7 separate regions of the Homo sapiens genome follow, and all the other regions are linked to region 5. Evidence: promoter capture Hi-C in 16 types of primary human blood cells and fetal thymus (Javierre and others, 2016). All regions are on one chromosome and are shown on one strand. The core of a region is centred on a gene start or on the middle of the fragment in contact, and the rest is flanking DNA. Distances in the headings are between cores, read along the strand shown. Region 1 overlaps LOC124904701 (hepatitis A virus cellular receptor 1-like). Region 2 overlaps HPN-AS1 (HPN antisense RNA 1). Region 3 holds the start of KIRREL2 (kirre like nephrin family adhesion molecule 2). Region 4 overlaps HPN (hepsin). Region 5 holds the start of GAPDHS (glyceraldehyde-3-phosphate dehydrogenase, spermatogenic). Region 6 has its middle 35 kb from the start of FXYD5. Region 7 holds the start of FXYD1 (FXYD domain containing ion transport regulator 1).

What was found. The method cuts DNA at HindIII sites, captures the fragments that hold promoters and counts their contacts. A CHiCAGO score of 5 or more calls a contact.
Region 1: a contact is called between a fragment that was not itself captured here and the fragment with the promoter of GAPDHS in region 5, in 1 of 17 cell types (non-activated CD4 T cells). The highest score is 5.6, in non-activated CD4 T cells.
Region 2: a contact is called between a fragment that was not itself captured here and the fragment with the promoter of GAPDHS in region 5, in 4 of 17 cell types (M0 macrophages, M1 macrophages, naive CD8 T cells and 1 more). The highest score is 6.8, in M0 macrophages.
Region 3: the fragment with the promoter of KIRREL2 here is called in contact with the fragment with the promoter of GAPDHS in region 5 in 5 of 17 cell types (M0 macrophages, M2 macrophages, erythroblasts and 2 more); the score reaches 12.1 in M0 macrophages.
Region 4: a contact is called between a fragment that was not itself captured here and the fragment with the promoter of GAPDHS in region 5, in 4 of 17 cell types (naive B cells, total B cells, total CD4 T cells and 1 more). The highest score is 6.5, in naive B cells.
Region 6: a fragment that was not itself captured here is called in contact with the fragment with the promoter of GAPDHS in region 5 in 1 of 17 cell types (monocytes); the score reaches 5.4 in monocytes.
Region 7: a contact is called between the fragment with the promoter of FXYD1 here and the fragment with the promoter of GAPDHS in region 5, in 10 of 17 cell types (monocytes, erythroblasts, activated CD4 T cells and 7 more). The highest score is 8.8, in monocytes.

The regions. Positions count from the first base shown.
Region 1 is chr19:35,091,850-35,094,618 of GRCh38, reverse strand. All of the region lies in intron 1 of LOC124904701 (hepatitis A virus cellular receptor 1-like), which reads right to left. All of the region lies in intron 2 of HPN-AS1 (HPN antisense RNA 1), which reads left to right. Among named protein-coding and RNA genes, the nearest start is that of HPN-AS1, 13 kb to the left of the region's middle. The HindIII fragment of the contact is 6,053 bases long and covers 1-2,769 here.
Region 2 is chr19:35,069,270-35,071,969 of GRCh38, reverse strand. All of the region lies in intron 3 of HPN-AS1 (HPN antisense RNA 1), which reads left to right. Among named protein-coding and RNA genes, the nearest start is that of HPN, 29 kb to the right of the region's middle. RefSeq lists a silencer at 1,139-1,339. The HindIII fragment of the contact is 1,655 bases long and covers 459-2,113 here.
Region 3 is chr19:35,855,552-35,858,439 of GRCh38, reverse strand. KIRREL2 (kirre like nephrin family adhesion molecule 2) reads right to left here and starts at 1,529. Exons shown (of 15, transcript NM_199180.4): 1 at 1,260-1,529; 2 at 946-1,095; 3 at 1-32. The coding sequence starts at 1,320. The HindIII fragment of the contact is 4,263 bases long and covers 1-2,888 here.
Region 4 is chr19:35,049,010-35,051,709 of GRCh38, reverse strand. HPN (hepsin) reads right to left here. Exons shown (of 13, transcript NM_001384133.1): 3 at 2,319-2,420; 4 at 2,194-2,235. Among named protein-coding and RNA genes, the nearest start is that of HPN, 8.6 kb to the right of the region's middle. The HindIII fragment of the contact is 5,328 bases long and covers 1-2,700 here.
Region 5 is chr19:35,532,125-35,535,099 of GRCh38, reverse strand. GAPDHS (glyceraldehyde-3-phosphate dehydrogenase, spermatogenic) reads right to left here and starts at 1,644. Exons shown (of 11, transcript NM_014364.5): 1 at 1,506-1,644. The coding sequence starts at 1,572. RefSeq lists an enhancer at 658-787. The HindIII fragment of the contact is 5,250 bases long and covers 1-2,975 here.
Region 6 is chr19:35,188,519-35,191,218 of GRCh38, reverse strand. No RefSeq gene overlaps it. Among named protein-coding and RNA genes, the nearest start is that of FXYD5, 35 kb to the right of the region's middle. The HindIII fragment of the contact is 1,556 bases long and covers 511-2,066 here.
Region 7 is chr19:35,137,415-35,140,114 of GRCh38, reverse strand. It overlaps FXYD1 (FXYD domain containing ion transport regulator 1), which reads right to left and starts at 1,291. Exons shown (of 8, transcript NM_021902.4): 1 at 1,221-1,291; 2 at 1-39. The coding sequence starts at 35. The HindIII fragment of the contact is 25,239 bases long and covers 1-2,560 here.

The sequences.
Region 1 (2,769 bases), core at 13-2,512, 440 kb after region 5:
ATAATGTGCACTCTAGGAGAGAAGAGACCTGTCTCTTTTGTTCTTTGCTGTGTCTCCAGAGCCTACAGCAGGGCCTGCTACAAAGTAGATACTCAGAAAAATTTTGTGAGTGGATGGATGGAAGGATGGATGAGTGGATAGATGGATGGATGGATGGATGGATGGATGGATGGATGGATGGATGAATGGATGAATGGATGGAAGGATGGATGAGTGGATGGATGATAGATGGATGAATGGATGGATGGCATAGGCCAGGTGGTAGGTGCAGGTGCCCTGGAAGTGGGCTATGGCCCCATCGAAGGTGAAGTAATGAGGATCTCCAGTGGCCATGCAGGTGCCCAGGGGGCTCTGGCAGCCCAGCTGGCCACCCTGCAGACCACAGATCTTCCCAGTGGGGCAGCACGCCGGGCTGCAGCGGAAATGCCCCGTTCTGTCACAGCTGCAGCGGCGGGTGCATCGGTTCAGCCAGACCAGGTCGGAGGCCAGATCAGCATGCCCTGCCCAGCCCAGCCCAGGTGGACCCAAACAGGGCCTGGTGGAGGCCCGAGGCTGGCCTGGCAGCTGACCCAGAAGAGCAGAGGCTCAGGGGCCGGCTCAGCATGGGATGGGCAGGAATGCCATGCCCAGATTCAACAGCTGGGGGTCTGACCATCATGACAGGCTACTGCCTTACCCAGAGGGCAGCAAACTTGTGACACCTGCTTTCTCTCAGTGGAAAGCACAGCCTAGTGATTAGCAGCACAATTTTGGGGTCAGAGAGACCTGGAGTCCAGACCTAGCTCTGTCCCTTGAGATCTCTGTGCATCCTGTAGCCTCAGTTTCCCCCTCTGCACATTGGAGGCAATCAAAGGGCTGTTTGAAGGTCAGTGCGGTCATACGCATGAGGCTCTCACCACCCAGCTGGCCTACAGTAACCAAGTTCTTGACATATATCTGATACCATTATTAATAACATGCTGGCCCAGTGCTCAAGGCATAATAAGCACTCAGAAAATATTACCTTTTATCCCGATGACAGGATTACACACGCAGCAAATGACCAAAATATGTTCACGATGGTTATCATTATATATCATTAACTGGTTAGCACAGCAATACAGCAGATGCCTGGTACATACCAGCCATTATTATTGTTAATATCACCATTATTTTAATATGCTTACACAAGGCACATTGTAAATGCCCAAACTCTTAATATATTAGCCATTATTATTATTATTACTATTCATAAAATGCTTAGCCCAGGCATGAACACAAAGTAAATACCCAATATATTTTAGCTTATTCATTTAATTATTTTTTTGAGATGGAGTCTTGCTCTGTCACCCAGGCTGGAGTGCAGTGGTGTTATCTCAGCTCACTGCAACCTCTGCCTCCTGGGTTCAAGCAATTCTTGTGCCTCAGCCTCCCAAGTAGCTGGGACTACAGGCATGTGCCACCATGCCCGGCTTATTTTTGTATTTTTCAGTAGAGACAGGGTTTTGACATGTTGGCTAGGCTAGTCTCCAACTCCTGACCTCAAGTGATCCGCCCACCTTGGCCTCCCACAGTGTTGGGATTACAGGTGTGAGCCACTGTGCCCAGCCCCCAATACATTTAAAATTTTTTTTTTTGAGACGAAGTCTCACTCTTGTCCCCCAGGCTGGAGTGCGATGGTACAATCTCGGCTCACTGCAACCTCTGCCTCCCGGGTTCAGGTGATTATCCTGTCTCAGCCCCCGAGTAGCTGGGATTATAGGTGCCTGCCACTAAGGGAGGAGACCACCCCTCATATTGTCTTATGCCCAATTTCTGCCTCCAAAGAAAGAAGTAAAAGCCAAAAGACAGAAATGAAATCCACAGGCAGACAGCCCGGCGCCACACCCTGGGCCTGGTAGTTAAAGATCCACCCCTGACCAAACCAGTTATGTTATCTATAGATTACAGACATTGTATAGAAAAGCACTGTGAAAATCCCTGTCCTGTTCTGTTCTGTTCTTACTGGTGCATGCAGCCCCCAGTCACATACCCCCTGCTTGTTCAATAGATCACGACCCTCTCACGTGGACCCTCTTAGAGTTGCGAGCCCTTAAAAGGGACAGGAATTGCTCACTCGGGGAGCTCGGTTTTTTGAGACGTGAGTCTTGCCGATGCTCCTGGCCAAATAAAGCCCTTCCTTCCTTAACTCAGTGTCTGAGGGGTTTTGTCTGCAGCTCGTCCTGCTACACCACCACGCCCAGCTAATTTTTGTATTTTTAGTAGAGACTGGGTTTTACCATGTTGGCTAGGCTGGTCTAGAACTCCTGACCTCAGGTGATCCACTCGCCTCAGCCTCCCAAAGTTCTGGGATTATAGGCATGAGCCGCCGCGCCTGGCCACATTTTAATTATTATTATTAGCAGTATGGGACCTGATGTGTGATCACTACTCAAATGTTGGCCATCAAAATAATACAAATGGTTTGGGTGTGGTGGCTGATGCCTGTAATCCTAGTACTTTGCGAGGCTGAGGCAGAAGGATCCCTTGAGTCCAGGAGTTTGAGACCAGCCTGGGCGATACGGTCAGACCTCATCTCTACAAAAAATTTAAAAATTAGCCAGACATGGTGGCACGCAACTGAAGTCCCAGCTACTCAGGTGACTGAGGGGGAGTATCATTTGAGCCAGGGAATTTGAAGCTGCAGTGAGCTAAGATGGCGCCCGTGCACTCTAGCCCCAGCAACAGAGCAAGACCCTGTGTCAAAAAAATAAATAAATAAATAAAATAAAAATAAAAAAATAAAAATAA
Region 2 (2,700 bases), core at 37-2,536, 460 kb after region 5:
GCTTCACGCCATTCTCCTGTCTCAGCCTCCTGAGTAGCTGGGACTACAGGCACCCGCCACCATGCCTGGCTAATTTTTTTGTATTTTTAGTAGAGATGGGGTTTCACCGTGTTAGCCAGGATGGTCTCAATCTCCTGACCTCGTGATCCACCCGCCTCGGCCTCCCAAAGTGCTGGGATTGCAGGTATGAGCCACTGCACCCGGCCTCAAACCCACAGTTTCATAAACATTATTGTTAAAGTCAAGGCTGGCAGGGCACAGTGGCTCATGCCTGTAATCCTAGCACTTTGGGAGGCCAAGGCAGGTGGATCGCTTGAGCCCAGGAGTCTGAGACCAGCCTGGGCAGCATAGCGAGACCCCATCACTATCAAAAATACAAAAATTAGCCAGTCTCATAACCCGGTCTCAAAATAAATAAATCAATAAAAATAATACATAAATAAAGTCAAGGCTAAGCTTAAAAAAAAAAGACACACACACACACACACAAAAGGAAAAGAGATAATTTGAATAAAACAATACAAGTAGTACCAGCGGTATTTGTTTGCCCCTAAGCTCCATAAAGTTGGTTTGTCCTGTCCCCTATATTTCTCCAATTCCTAGAACAGTGTCTGGCACATAATAGGTGCTTAATAAATATTATTTGAATGAATGAATAGCAAAAATTAAGACAGCCACTTTCAAACATCTGAATTTGGGGAAATACTGAAGTAACATGTATAAAACTCTCAGTACAGTACCTGTCACATAGGAAGTGCTCAAAAATATGCATGGATATGTTTATTAATATAAATTATTATTATTATTTAGAAGTGAAACAGGCATTGTGGCCAAATGCTAATTAGTGAAGTATTAAATTAAAGATTTGCCCAAAGCTGACTATCACCTTCTTAGAATGAACTTCTGTAATGTAAGAACAAATGTGAAAGTGTTCTAAAAAGTTATTACTGTCATAATTTTATTATCCACAATTTTAGCAGGGAAATATTTCAGGTTGAACACCTTACTGAGGGATCATTTCTCTGCTTTGTCAGCTGTTAATTTGCTCCGATAGTCCATAAGCTCCTAGGGCAGTTTTAAGATGTGGCCCCAAATTTTTTGACCTGCCTTCCACCACCAAAGGGTGGGGTCTCCATCTCCTCCTCTAGGGTCTGGACAGGTTTGTGATTGCTTCAGCTGACAGAGTGGAGCAGAAATGAGGCTGGGGTGTAAAGGCCAGTGTCTGCTGGAATGCTCACTCTGGAGCCATGAGCCACCACGTGAGAAGTTCAAATGTCCTTGGGTAGCCATATTGGAAGGAAGCCCAAGTTAGCCAGACAATGAGTCCACAGTACCAGCTGAGCTCAGCTTTTGAGTGATCCCAGCCCGGATACTAGACTTGTGAGTAAAGAGCCTCCTTTTGGGATACCGAGGCAGGAGGGTCACTTGAGCCCAGGAGTTCAAGACCAGCCTGGGCAACCAGTCCCATCTCTACAAAAAAAAAATAAAATTAGTTGGGTATGGTGGCACACACCCGTAGTCCCAGTTACTTGGGAAGCTAAGTTGGGAGGATCGATTGAGCCCAGGTGGTAGAAGTTTTAGTGAGCCATGATCACACCACTGCACTCCAGCCTGGGCGACAGAGTGGGACCCTGTTTCAAAACAAACAAACAAAAGAAGCCTCCCTATTCCAGTCCCTGTTCCTTTAGGCTTTCTAGCTAAGGACCTGGTCATCAGGGAGCAGAGACAAGCTGTGCCTGCTGTTCCCTGTCCAACTTTCTGAGCTGCAGAATCCATGAGCATTTACTGTACCCACTAGCTTTGGGTGGTATGTCATGCAGCAAGAGCCAAAACAGCTCCTCGCTTCATAACTGCAGGATTGAAACAGTGTTACTTTTTATGCAGAAACTAAAGTCCATCTCCCTACTTATGCTGCTATCTGAATGTTCACAATAATTATTTCTGAATATAAAATGAATAGCCTTCACCATCATTGCTAATCATGGCTGTGATTTTATGTATGAAATAACTGTTGTGGCAGAGTAGCTGTACATTTCTCCTTCAACCCAGCTGGGAGAATGCCAACTTATAACCACATATGGAGCTATCTGTTCCAACTAACATCCAGAAAGCTTTTCTATATTTGAAAAGGACTATGTAGATATAAATGCTAAATAGGAATGCAAAACTTGGCTTGGGTTCCTGATGTAGTTGCACTAATTCTGTAAGATGGGTCAAATATTTCTGATTCTGAGCGGCACCACAATGACATGGAAGTAATTTTCATATTCAGCTTTTCTGAAGACTGAGACCCTGGCAGGAACTGAAAGCAACCTTGTGACTGTTATTATTCTTTTTAAATATCTTCCTAGCTCTTTGGGGTGAGTGGCAAGGTTGCTGGGAGCAGGAGGAGAAACTGAGGCTCACTGACCCCTGGCATACAAGGGAAACCAGTGAATGGCTGTTGAGTGAATCACAATCTCCCCAGCCCCTCCACTCCTCCAACAAAGCAACAGTGCAGACAGAACTCAGAATGGCTGTCAGAGGCGTTTGAACCAGAGCAACTCCATCTTAAATAGGACCTGGGTAAAGTAAGGCGGAGACCTGCTGGCCCGCATTCCCGGTAAATTAAGGCATTCTAAGTCAGAGGATGAGAGAGGAGGTCGGCACAAGATACAGGTCATAAAGACCTTTCTGATAAAACAGACTGCAGTAAAGAAG
Region 3 (2,888 bases), core at 280-2,779, 320 kb before region 5:
TGCATTCCCTGATATCCAGTACCGGGACCACCCTGGAGTCAGGGAGAAGGCAGTCAGCACACCATGGTTCTGAAATCCTGGCCTCAGGCCTCCATCCCCAGACATCCTCCACCAGAAAACTGGCCCACACATTTGGTGGTAAGACACTATTAAAAAGTGTGTACTGGGCCCAGAGAGACTCTAACTCCCTCCCAACCCAGAGTCACTGCAAACTTAGGGGTAATAAAGTCAGGAAGGAAAGCAAGAAAATGATTGCCATAAAAATTAGGTTAGATACTACTTCTGGAGTGAGGGGGAGGGGGCTATGATAGGGGAAAGGAACACGGGGTCTTCTGGGGAGCTAGCAATGGACTTGGGTATTGGCTGTGTGTGTCTATTTTATTTGGTAAATCTTCCATTTATATTTACTGTACTTTTTTGCATTTATGTTCTCTTTTTTTTTTTTTTTTGAGACAGGGTCTCACCATTGCCTGAAGTGCAGTGGCTTGATCATGGCTCACTGCAGCCTTGAACTCCTAGGCTCAAGCAATCCTACCACCTAAGCCTCCTGAGTAACTGGGACTATAGATGCACACCACCATACCCGGCTAATTTGTTTAAAATATATATATACATTTGTGTAGAGATAAGGTCTTGTTATGTTGCCCAGGCTGGTCTCAAACTCCTGGTTTCAAGCGATCCTCTGGCCTCAACCTCCCAAAGCGTTGGGATTACAGGCGTGAGCCACTGCACCTGGCCTATGTACTATTTTGCAATAACATAATAATTCCCAAACTCCGTGGGTCACCCCCAAAGAAGCAGCTCAAAAATCAGGACTCCTAAATGTTTACCCGAGCCCATCAATTTCCCAAACTTGAAAATGTCAAAATAGAAACTGCAGGTACAGCCGAGCCCAGCAACTCTCCCCCTAGCCAGCCCGTCCCAGCGTGGAGAGAACACTCTTACCTGGTAGGTCCCTTTGGCCCCCTAGGGCCAGCCCACTCTTAGTCCACTGAACTAGCCCCCAGTAGGCGCCCAGAGCACACGGCAGCCGGGCTTCCTCCCCCAGCAGCACCACCAGGTCCTCTGGCTGTTGCAGGAAATGGGGCGACGGGCCTAGGAGAGTTCGGGGCAGCAGGGCTGAGCTTAGCACCTTCAGGGGCCTCCTCATTCAGGACCCAGGAGTCCCAGCCCCCAGCTCCCTTCTCGCTAGTGAAGAGGCAGCCCGCAAGCAACTCCCCACCCCCACCCCATATTCCTCCGCTCCCCTCGTGCGGTACCTGCTCTCCCTCTGAAGCAGAAGAGGAGGACGAGGAGGGCGGGGACCCGCATCCTGAGCATTCGTCCCCCAAGGTTCACGAGATTTGCCGTCGCACTGGCCTTCCCGTCAACTTCTTCCTCTCAAGCACGCCTCCTGTCACCCTGGCCCGGAGCCCCCTTCACGCTCGACTCTTCGCCCAGCCTAGTCTCTGGCCTGGAGTCCTCCAAGTCTGCTCATCCGCAGCCTCTGACGCTCTGAAACGCCTGCCAGTTCCGCGGCCTGGGTCTCTGGGAGACCCCAAGAGGGCCCGATCCCGCTCGCCCCGCCCGGGTCCGCCCCCCGGGAGCTCCGCCCTCTTCCCGTTGAGAAACTCCCGCGGCTGAGACGCGGATGAATGGGGGACGCAGGGCGGGATCCCCCGGCGGGTGGGCGCCCCCAGCTCAATTGGGGTCTGGGAGCCGGAACACCTGGGTTCGAGGAGGGAGGGGGTCCCGGCTGGGTTGGACACCTGCGCCCTGCCGGGGTTGAGGGGCAGGCAAGGGGTGAGGAGGAGGGAAGGGAGAGAGTGGAAGAAACTTGCTCAGCCCAGGTCCTAGAGGGACTGCGCTCAGTGGAAACTGAGCTATAAATGGGAGCTCCTGGGGCCTCGCCAGTTTCCGCGCCCTGGGGGATGCGGGGTCCGGGGCTCCCCCGGGCCTGCGTGTCGGGAAGAGGGCACACCGATACCTGGGGGACAGTTGGGACCCCTACCTCGACTCCCCCAGCCTCAAAACCCCTCCTCAAAATATCCCTCTGTTCCCTTGTTATTGCTGCAAACTACAGCACGTCCTAAGACCCAGGAATCCAGGCCCTCGGCCCCTCCTTTCCCAGGACCCCGCAGTCCCAGCCCAACCCCTCTCCCCACTCGGCCGGCCGGGCCCCTCGGCCTGGTTGCCCGGCGACGGCTGGGAGGCGGCGGTGCCGGGCCGGGGCAGGCAGGGAGGCTGGGAACCGCGCAGCTTGTCCTGACGGCTCCATGCAGCCCAGCTGGGGCGTTCCCACGCTGCGCAGCTGGCCGAGCAGGTGGGAGGGACCCCGAGCAGCCTGAAGGAGGGCTGGGGGGCTGGGACCCTGATCTGACATTCCTGGACCTGTAAGAACTGGAGGGTCCACATTCAGATTCTCCACTGTTCTTAGGCTCAGACTCCGTGTCCCTAAATGGGGGAGTGGGGTTGGGAGTGGGGGTTGGACTTACAGGGTTATAAGGGACTGGTGGTTCAGGCCTTTGCTGGCTGAGACGCTGATGGCCTGATCTCCCGGTTCCTTGAGAGGCTGGAGACTCAAGGTGCACTCAAGTGCATGGTGCACTTGGAAGAGGGTGACAGGGGTCAGAATATCTGGTCTTAAGTCTTAAGAGTCGGTGGATCTATCTGCCAATCTCTCCCCACCCCCACACAGGCCCAGGAGGATTTGGAAATCAGACCGTGAACATCTGTCCTAAGTCCTGTGTGTATGTGTGTGTGTGTGTGTGTGTGTGTGTGTGTGTGTGTGTGTGTGTGTGTGTATGGGGAGGTGCGGGGGTGGGTAGTGTGGCCAGGAGGATCAGAGGCCCAAATTCCCGAGTCCTTGGAGAGAAGGGACTGAGACCCCAGGGTCTGAGAGGGGAGGG
Region 4 (2,700 bases), core at 114-2,613, 480 kb after region 5:
TCAGCTGTTCTTTTTTTTTTTTTTTAACAAGCAATCAAGTGTAGACACTATATACAGTTACTACGCAGGCTGCCTGGGTTCAAATCCCAGCCCTGACACTGACTAGCTCCATGACCTGGGGCAAGTCACTCAGCCTTTCTGTGCCTCAGCATCCCCATAGGAAAATGGGTTGTGGTGGTGCACACCTGTAATCCCTGCACTTTGGGAGGCTGATCTGAGAGGACTGCTTTGAGCTCAGGAGTTCAAGATCAGACTGGGCAATGTAGCAAGATCCCATCTCTACTAAAAATTTAAAAAATGAGGTTGGGTGTGGTGGCTCATGCCTGTAGTCCCAGCACTTTGGGAGGCCGAGACGGGTGGATCACCTGAGGTCAGGAGTTTGAGACCATCCTGGCCAACATGGTGAAACCCCGCCTCTACTAAAAATACAAAAATTAGCTGGGTGTGGTGGCACGTGCCTGTAGTCCTAGCTACTCAGGAGGCTGAGGCAGGAGAATCACTTGAACCTGGGAGATGGAGATTGCAGTGAGCCAAGATCGCGCCACAGCACTCCTGCCTGGGCGACACAGCGAGACTCTGGCTCAAAAAGATAAAAATAACAATAATTTGTTATTGACAAAATAATTTTGTGTAGGCATGGTGGCATTAGCCTATAGTCCCAGCTACTCAGAAGGCTGAGATGGGAGGATTGCTTGAGCCCAGGAGATGTAGGTTACAATGAGCTAAGATCGTGTCACTGCACTCCAGCCTGGGCGACAGAGCAAGACCCCATCTCAAAAAAAAAAAAAAAAAAAAGAAAGAAAGAAAGAAAGAAAAAAAAAAGAAAAGAAAAACAACAGGTTGTTGGGAAGACTTAATGAGTTGATATCATAAGGTCCCAAGGCCTTGGCTGGTGCATACAAATGCTAAGTGCTGGTAATGATGATTAATGTTGATGTTGGCTTTTCTTGTCTGGATTTTCATTTCTGATTTTAGTGTGAACTGAATCCTTTATGGAATTAGATGAGGCTCACAGACATGAAAAATACATCCCACCACCCAACTTCCCCTTTTTTCCTGCTGTCCTGCATCAGGGAATGGCAGCTTGAAGTTGGCATTTGGGAAGATTCATTCATTCATCCCACAGTTAGTTTCTTTATCTATTTATTTGTGTGGCCATTCATTCCACATGCCTGCAGACACACTTACAGTGGATAAGTCTAAGAGCTGTTCCTGGCCCCTCGTTCCCCAGCTGCATGTCCTCTCTGGTCCTCATTTTGCACATCTGTAAAATGGAGCTAATTACCAGGGACAGGCGCAGTGGCTCATGCCTGTAATCCCAGCACTTTGGGAGGCCGAGGCGGGTGGATCACAAGGTCAGGAGATAGAGACCGTCCTGGCCAACATGGTGAAATCTCATCTCTACTAAAAATACAAAAAATTAACTGGGCATGGTGGCACACGCCTGTATTCCCAGGTACTTGGGAGGCTGAAGCAGGAGAATCGCTTGAACCTGGGAGGCAGAGGTTGCGGTGAGCTGAGACTGCACCATTGCACTCTAGCCTGGGTGACAGAGCAAGACTTTTTTCTTTTTTAAAACAAACAAACAAAAAAACTACCTCCTAGGAGAGTTAGAAGGGTCCACTGAATTTATATCATGCCTCCCCAACATGTTTTCACCATGCCACGCAGTAAGAAACACATTTTTACATCCTGATGTAGCCCATAGCTCTGTAGTCTGGGGCAAACTGCTGCATTGCTCAAAGCCTCAGTTTCCCCATCTGTAAAACAGGGAGAATAACAGTCCCACCCTCAGAGTGTGGGGATGCAGTGGGATTACATGTATATGGATGCAAAAAAAAAAAAAAACAAACAAAAATTAGCATAACCTTTACTTACTGAGAGATGTACTGTGATAGTCTGTAATCGAATCTATTTCATACTTAAAAAAAAAACATGGTTTTCCAACTCACTAATTTAATTTTATGAGGCACTCATGAGTAATACACTGGTGTCTGAAAAAGTCTGGGTTAGACATGTGGGGTGCTTAGAATAGTGCCTGGTACATAGCAGGCACTCAATACAAATGCACTATTATGATTAGCATTTCTGCATGCATTTGTGCATTTATTCAACAAATACGCTTGTTGAGCTCCCGCCAGATACACGTGTCCTCCAGGGCTCCCCCAGAGGGTCCCAGCCTGCTCCACTCACCTGGGTACAGCGGCTCCTGGTCACTCCTGAGGAGAACAGCCACTGCAGAGAAGGGAGGGGTGAGGGCAGGCAGGCTGGAGGCTGCAGGGGCCAGGGGAGGTCAGAGGCACAGGAACCGCTCTCACCAATGGCCCAGGATGCCGCCCCGATGGCTGTCAGAAGTAGCAGGGTCCCCGCAGTGAGAGCTGCCACCTTGGGTCTGGAGCAGCATGGCACAGTCCGGCCACCTGCAACAGACACCATGCTGGGGCCACAGCCAGGCCTGTCCTCATTGCGGCAGGGTCTGGGCCCGAGGCCAGCTCTGCCCTGCCCCCAGGGCTAACTTATTATGCCCAAGCATGTCCTCCCCAGGCCCAGTTTCCCGGGGCCAGCAGTTGACAGGGCTGTTCCTCCCCTGCCGTGTGAACAACCAGGTGCCCAGCTCCCCCAGGGTTCCAGCTGGGAGGGGGGCATGGCCGGGCCACCTGCCACGGTCTCCACCTCCGCCCTGCACTTTCCTGGCACTTA
Region 5 (2,975 bases), core at 395-2,894:
GGATTTGAGCAAGTTAATGAACCTCTTGGGGCTGATCCCCCACCTAGGGGCTGCTGTGAGGGCGCAGTGAGATCTCGAGGCCCACACATAGGAGCTGATTTTAATAGAGGAGGGAAGTCTGATCCTACACAGATTCCTGAGGAAAGGGAGACAGCAGGGGGTGGAGAAGGGCTGGAAGGGGGTAGTGGGAGTCCAAGTTTTTGGCACCAAATCAAAGGCACCTGGGGGGTGGTGGGGCTGGGAGCCGGGGGCCAGCTGGCCTGTCTGTCTCCCTGACCTCTCCCTGTTGCCACAGACCTTGTGGCCTGAGGCTGGACTATAGGTGTTTCCAGTGGCTGTCCAAGTTCATGAAGGTGTTAGTGTTTATTGGTGAACTTGAGGATGTTTGCATCCTTGGGGGTTGTTTCTGCTATGGGAGAAAGGGGATTTGTCCACCTGGTTCAGGTGGGAATCTGAGCCCAATGGGTGACCCTTCCGAAGAAAACTCAGATGGTCCTCCTCTCCCAGCACTCCCAGCCTTGCACTCTCTTCCCCTCCACTGTAGGGGTGGGGTCCCCCGGTTGGAGAAAAGCCTGGGGGCTAGCTGGGTGCTGCCCCCAGCTCCTCACTGCGTCCTCCCACTGAATCCCGAGAGGCATGCGCTATAAACCCACTTTACAGAGGGGAAAATGAAGCCTGAGGCCACGGAGCAGTGATGCGCAGGGCAGGGGTTCAAGTCTCATGAGGCTGGTAAGCCTGTCTGCTCCTGTGTCTTCCAGGGTCTCCTGGACCAAAGCCCCAGCCCCACCTACCCCTGCGGCCCCCGCCCTTGGGAAGTGAGGGAACAGTGTGGGAATGGAGGCAGCCCACCGGAAGACCTGGTTCCTCCGGCTAGAGTGAGTGAGTGAGTGTGTGTGTGTGTGTGTGCGCGCGCGCGGGCGCGCCGCCCTTGTTGAGAGACTAAGGAAGTAGTTTGCCCTCTCTTAACCTCTGTTGGCCGCTCTGTAAACTGCGGGCACACTCTGGCCTTCTCAGGTGGTGGTGAGGCTTCCCTGAGCTCTCGCCTGCGAAGTGGTCAGCACGTCCCCGGCAAGGTTCCAAGTGTCCTTGTTTTGTGCATCACAGGGAGGGCAAAGCTCACCTCACGCGAAGCGCCATGAACATCACTTTTACATGGAAGCCCAGCACCCCTGGGTTCTCCCTAAGCCCCTCCTAAGCCCGCCCACTTCCCGCCACTTTCAGGCTGCAGCCTCCGATGGCCCTCGTTTCTGCTCTTTCTACCGCGTGATAGCGGCGCGAAGCCCACCCAGCCCTGGGGGCGGAGGCCCGGTCTCCCCGCCATGGCAGTAAACCCCACTCTGCCAGCACACTGGCGGGTGTGGAGGGAGGGAGAGCGGCTGATCCCCTGGTCCCTAGATGGTGCACACGCCAGGAAGGGCGGTAGGGATACGGCACAGGTGTGAGGGTGCAGACGCTCCCCACTACCCTTTCCACCCCTCCCCCGCGCCCTCCGCTGCCTCCCTCACCCGGGCACGGCTGTCGCAGCAACTGGACAACGGTGACATTGGTGAGGACGATGTCGCGCTTCGACATGGCCTCTTATAAGGTTATCATTGGCCTGGACCTGCTGTGATGTTACCGAGGTGCGTGCGGAGCGCCAGGGCTGTGGGTCCTGGGCTAATTGCCCTGATGTCACAGCACCCAGTGACGTCACAGTACCCAGTGACGTCGCCGAGGGGCGGCGCCCAAGCCAGAGGCCTGACACCATCGCATCCCATCCCCGTAGAGGCATGGGACGTCAGCACGCTATGCATCACCGTTCCACGGCCACGCACTGCCGTCTGGAATGGAATCCCACTTTTTAAAATTATCATTTGTTTATTTATTTTGAGACGGGGTGTCACTCTTTCTCCTAGGCTGGAGTGCAGTGGTGCAATCATGGCTCACTGCAGCCTTGAACTCCTGGGCTCAAGCGATCCTCCCGCCTCGGCCTCCTGAGTAGCTGGGACTACATGTGCAGCCACCACTGCAGGCTATTTTTACTTTTTATTTTTTTGTAGAGAGAGGGTCTCACTCTTTTGCTCAGGCTGGTCTAGAACCCTTGGGCTCAAGCGATCCTCCCACCTCGGCCTTCCAAAATGCTGGGATTACAGGAGCGAGCCACCACACCCAGCCTGGAATCCCACCTTTTACACTGTTCCTGAAAGCCCTTTCCTCTTCTCTGTCTCTTGAAGCACACAGGTTCCATGCTGTCCCTTGGATTCTCCAGTGGAGTGACTCTTGCTGCCTCCGTATGCCTGGAAGGCCCACCCAGGGCTTCCCTTGGCTGCCTCTTGGTTTCCCACCCTTTAAGAGAGGCTTTCTACACTCTGCATCTAAGTTCCCTCCTTTCTCTGTCACTGTCAGCCGTCACCCCCTTCCCAATTTCTGCCCATCTTCCAGGAAGCCTTGTCTGACTTCTCCATTCTGAGTTATGCTTCAGTGTGCAAAATTTCTCTAGGGCTACACTGTCTATGTTTTTATTTTCCTTAGAGCACATGTCTCTCTAAAAATTGTTTGTTTTCTTGCCAACTGTCTCTGTCCACCAGACTGTAAGCTCTGAGAGGACAGGGACGTCATCTATGTCACTTCTGTATCCCATTGACAAGAAAAGTGTTTGGCACCTGAAAGGTGTTTGTGGGCTGGACGCAGTGGCTCATGCCTGTAATCCCAACACTTTGGGAGGCTGAGGTGGGAGGATCATTTGAGTCCAGGAGTTTGAGACCAACATGGGCAATGTGGCAAAACCCTGTATCTACAAAAAATAAAAAAAGTAGCCAGGTGTGGTGGTGCATGCCTGTTGTCCCAATTATTAGGGAGGCTGAGGTGGGAGGATCACTTGAGCCTAGGAGGTCAAGGCTGCAGTGAGCTGTGATTGTGTCACTGCACTCCAGCTGGGAGACAGAGCAAGACCCTGTCTGAAAAAGGCGTTAGCCCAATAAACTATACCTGAATGA
Region 6 (2,700 bases), core at 39-2,538, 340 kb after region 5:
AATCAATAACAGGAAGATAACAGGACAATCTTTAATCATTTGAAAAATAGGACATTCCAAAGGGAATTAGGAAATATTTGTAGCTGAAAGAAAGTAAGAAACCTATCAAAATTTGTGGAATTCTGTTAAAGAAGTGCTTATATAAAAATGTATAGTCTTAAATGTTGATTATATTAGAAAAGAAGAAAGATCTCAAGTCAATAATCTAAGTTTTCACCATAGGAAATTAGAAAATGAAGAGCAAAATAAACCCAAATGAAGAGCAAGGAAAAAATAAGTGCAAAAATCAATGAAAACAAAAAAGCAATAGAAGAAATCAGTAAAACCAAAAGCTGTTTCTTTGAAAAGATCAGTAAAATTGATAAACCTCTAACAAGACTGAGGAGAGAAGAAGGGAGAGAAAGAGATAGAGGTAGAGATAAAGAGAGAAGAGAGAGAAGGGAGGGATTATCAATATTAGGGTAGAAAGAGGACAGCTATCACCACAGACCCTATAATTATTAAAAAGCTTATAAAGGAATATCAGTAATAACTCTATACACATAAATATCAAAATTTAGATGAAATGGACCAATTTCTCAAAAACTACCAGCTACTACATTCACCACTGTTGAAATAGATAATATGAATAGTCTAGTAACTATTAAATAAATTGCATGTATAGTTAATGCCATTTTAAAAAATCTCCTGGCCCAGGTGGTTTCAATGGTTTTAAATAAGTAATTTAAAGAAGAAATAGCACTAATTCTTCATAATTTCTTCCAGAAAATACAAAAGGAGAAATACTCTCCAACTCATGTTATGAAGCCAGCATTACCCTGATGACAAACCAGATAGACAGTACAAAAAATAATAATAAACACAACTAAAATACTCCTCATGAATATAGATGCAAAAATACTCAATAAAATGTTAGCAAATTGAACTCGGCAATATGTAAAATGAGTAGTAAACTATGACCGGCCGGGCGCGGTGGCTCACACCTGTAATCCCAGCACTTTGGGAGTCTGAGGTGGGCGGATCACCTGAGATCAGGAGTTCAAGACCAGACTGACCAACATGGAGAAAACTCATCTCTACTAAAAATACAAAATTAGCCAGGCATGGTGGTGCACAGCCTGTAATCCCAGCTACTTAGGAGGATGAGGCAGGAGAATCACTTGAACCCAGGAGGCAGAGGTTGGGGTGAGCCGAGATCCTGCCATTGCACTCCAGCCTGGGCAACAAGAGTGAAACTCTGTCTCAAAATAATAATAATAATAAATGAATAAATACAATAAACTATGACCAAATGGGATTTATACTAAGAATGCAACAATGGTCCAATTTTTTAAAATCAATCACTATTACCATATTAACCATCTAAAGAAGAAAAATCATGATTATATCAATAGGTGCAGACAAAGTATTGACAAAATAAAACACTCATACATGTTTTGTTTTGTTTTGCAAAAAATAATCCTAGCAAACTAGGAATAGAAGAGAACTTCATCAACCTGATAAAGAGCATCAAAAAGCCTACAGCTAATATCATACCAAACAGTGAAAAATGAATGCTTTCTTTCTTAAGATTGGGAACAAGACAAGCATGTTCACCATTTCTATTCAACATCATATTGAAAGTCTTAGCCAGTGTAATAAGTCAAGAAATGGAAGTAAGAGGCATATAGATTGGGAAGGAAAAAATAAAACTGTTCCCATCCCCAGTTGAAATGATTGTTTATGTAGAAAATCTCAATAAATATAAAATCAATCAATAAATAAAACAAAAAACCCCTGGCACTAATAAAGAAATTTTGTAGGAAACACAAGCTAATATGGCAGATGTAAATCCAATTGTATAAATAATAACATTAAATGTTGATGAAATGAACAATTCAATTAAAAGTCAAATATTTCAGACTAGATTTTTTTTAAAAACCAAGATACAGCCAAAAGCTATCTATAGGAAAAACATGTAAGATTCAAAAATGTAAAGTAAAATGATGAAAGACAATATATCAATATATCATGCAGTGACTACAAGAAAGCTGGAGTGGCAATACTAACGTCAGAAAAAATAAGCTTTGTAACAAAAAAGTTATTACAGATAAAGAGAAGCATTGTATAATGATAAGGCGGTCAGTCCATCAGAATATATAACAATATAAACACATATACATCTAATAATAAAGCACCAAAATACATAAAGCAAAAACTAATAAAAATGAATAGAGAAATGAACAAATCCACAATAATAGTTGGAGACTTCAGTACCTCACTTCCAATAATGGATAGAACAACTAGGCATAAAATCAACAAGAAAATGGAAGATCTGAACAGTATTAATCAACCAGATATAACAGACAACTATAGCACACTTCTCCCAACAAAAGCAGAATACACAATCTTCTCGACTGCACGGAGAATATTCTGTAGGATAGAACCTGCACTAGGCAACAAAACAAATCTGTATAAAATTTTGATTTTAAAATTAAAATCAAAATCATGCGGCTGGGCACAGTGGCTCATGCCTGTAATCATAGAACTTTGGGAGGTTCAGGTGAGAGGATCACCTGAGGTCAGGAGTTCGAGACCAGCCTGGCCAACATGGCGAAACCCTGTCTCTACTAAAAATACAAAAATTAGCCAGGCATGGTGGCGATCTGCAATCTCCACCTCCTGGGTTCAAGCGATTCTCCTGCCTCAGCCTCCCAAATA
Region 7 (2,700 bases), core at 42-2,541, 390 kb after region 5:
ACACAGAAAACCAAGATGTGGCCAAGAGACGCCATTGTCCTGGGGGGGACACCACGGATTAGGCAGTGTGTGCCCTTGCTCTCCCACATAGGGCTTGAACCCAAGGGATTAAGTCAGAGACAGTCTGGGGACTGAATCACAGAAGTGTTTGTCCTCTATCTTGGTGGCTCCAAGCTAGAGAAACGGGTATCCCCAGCTTCGTGGGGACACAGTGTCACCAAAACAACCTCCACGATGGGATCACACAACAACACAACGTAGCAGGGACGGGGGTGAGACACACAGTCCCCGGGGGGCCTCCCTTGGGCCTCCACCTCCCGCAGCAGGCCCCCGATTCCCAGACCTACCCTGGCAGGGCAGAGGAGGCGCTGCCTCACACAAACACAGAGCAGGAGACAGCAGGGCACGCCCAAGTCCCACCTGCCTACATGCCCGGCCTCACTGTGCCCCGCGAAATCCCAGCTCCCTGCCCTCTCCGCCCGCCCGCTCGCGGCCTGACCCCGGGTATAAATATCTCCCACTTCACCCTGGAGGAATTCTGCTCGCTCAGGCCACCATGGCAACAGCCTGCCTTCCCCCACTCAGGGGGTCACGCACAGCCCTGCCGGGGTGAGGCCCAGCTGCCACATCGCCACAGGCTGCCCCTGTGGGAAAGGTCACCCCGTCTCCTCCCTGGGCAGCAACGAGAAAAGGAAAAGACAGCCCCTCTGCCCGCCTCTGGGTGACATCTTTCACAATCGGATGTCAGGCAAGTGACATGAGGCCCAGCCCAGTGGGCCTTAGAGATAGAAAACACATGCTGGGGCAGGGATACACACACACACACACACACACACACACACACACACACACAGTGGGGCCGGAATGGACATGAACAACAACCTCTCCCCAAACTGCTGGTTGGAGCAGGACGTGGGGTGTAAACACCGTCAGGCATCCAATACTCCTCCTCTGGGCCTCCGGTGCCCCCACGCAGTGACGCAACCAGCCCTACACACGTGTGTGTCCCAACTCCACACCCTGCCAGGGTGCACACGCACCAGCAGGGCAGGGAGGAGTCACCCACATCCCACCCTGCAGAACCCACTGCCTCAACCACACTCCCTCCCTCTTGGGTTGGCCTGCCTGGGAAGCCTCGGGCTGGCCACTCCTGCTCCCAAAATAGGCGGCCCAGCCAGACCAGGGGTGAGGCCTGGAGGGAAGGAGTGGGGGACGCTCACCCCAATCGGGCTGTCCCCTGCTGAAAGAAGGCCCCCAAACGTCCTGCTGTGCCCCGGGGGCTGAGCACTTTGGACCCCCTGGCCCAGAGCTGGACGCGCCGCCCCCAGCAGCCTCCCCTCCCAGCCCCACCCCACCCATGCCCTCCCCAACCAGCAGCTGAAACTGGAGCTGGGGCTGGAGGGGGGCCAGGGGGCGGCCCCCAGCCCAGACTGCCCTGGCCCGCTTGGTTAACTCTCTCAGTTCAGAGAGAGCAGCAGCAGGCAGCCAGCAGGCAGGCTGGAGAGGCTAGGAGGATTGTGGAGGACAGGGTTGTGAACACACACACACACAAACACACACGCCTCCAAGAGCTTTTGGGCTGAGGCGGCTGCCCCCTGGGAACTGGGTCCAGCCAGGGCCGAAGGTCACCCAGCCTGACTGCCCAGGAGCCCACTGACCCCCGATCCCAGTGCTCCGTGAGGTCCTTAACAGGGCTGTTTTAGAGGACGGGAGGGAGGTGTGTGTGTGTGTGTGTGTGTGCGCGCGCATGTGCGCTATCTGCTGTGGTGAGATCCCCAGAAATGCACCACACACACACACCCACACACAATCCCAAAGACCCAGATATACAGGTACAAAACCAGACAAAACCATGTATGTATGTACATCCATAGAAGCAGACACACACAGAATGACACACTGATAGAGAAACCCAAAGACCCGGACACACAGCCAACACCTTTTATGCCAGTCACAAAATACCAGAACAAGCACATTTATGTCTACACAGACCCACGCACGCTCATGTAGATGGATGGCCACACAGAGATACAGTCAAAGACATAGCCACATCACCATCTACACTCACAAACTGGCCACAAAAATGCATGTTTATGTGAAGACCCACCCACAAATGGCCATACAGAAACACACAAGTATGTGCACACCGCACATAAATGCATTCTAAGATGCATGGCCAAACATGGCCAGGTACGGTGGCTCACACCTGTACTCCCAGCACTTTGGGAGGCCAAGGCGGGAGGATCACTTGAGGCCAGGAGTTCAACACCAGCCTGGCCAACCCGACGAGAGCTCGTCTCTACTAAAAAAATATACAAAAATTAGCTGGGTGTGGTGGCGTGCGCCTGTAATCACGGCTACTCCGGAGGCTGAGGCAGGAGAGTCACTTGAGCCCGGGAGGCAGAGCTTGCAGTGAGCTGAGATCATGCCACTGCACTCTAGCCTGGGCAACAGAGCGAGACTCTGTCTCAAAAACAAAAACAAAACAAAAAAACCCCAAAGGTACAGACATGCAGCCAGCACTCCTACATGGTCCCAAAGATAGGAAGGCCAACAAGCTTGTGTACACACAGACAGATTTCCATGGGCACAGATACACAAGCAGAAACACCATCAAGGACAACCCGCCGCTCTCACACATACCCACAAAAGCAGAAACACACACACTGGTTCACACCCTATGCTTGAGCAAACAGGCAC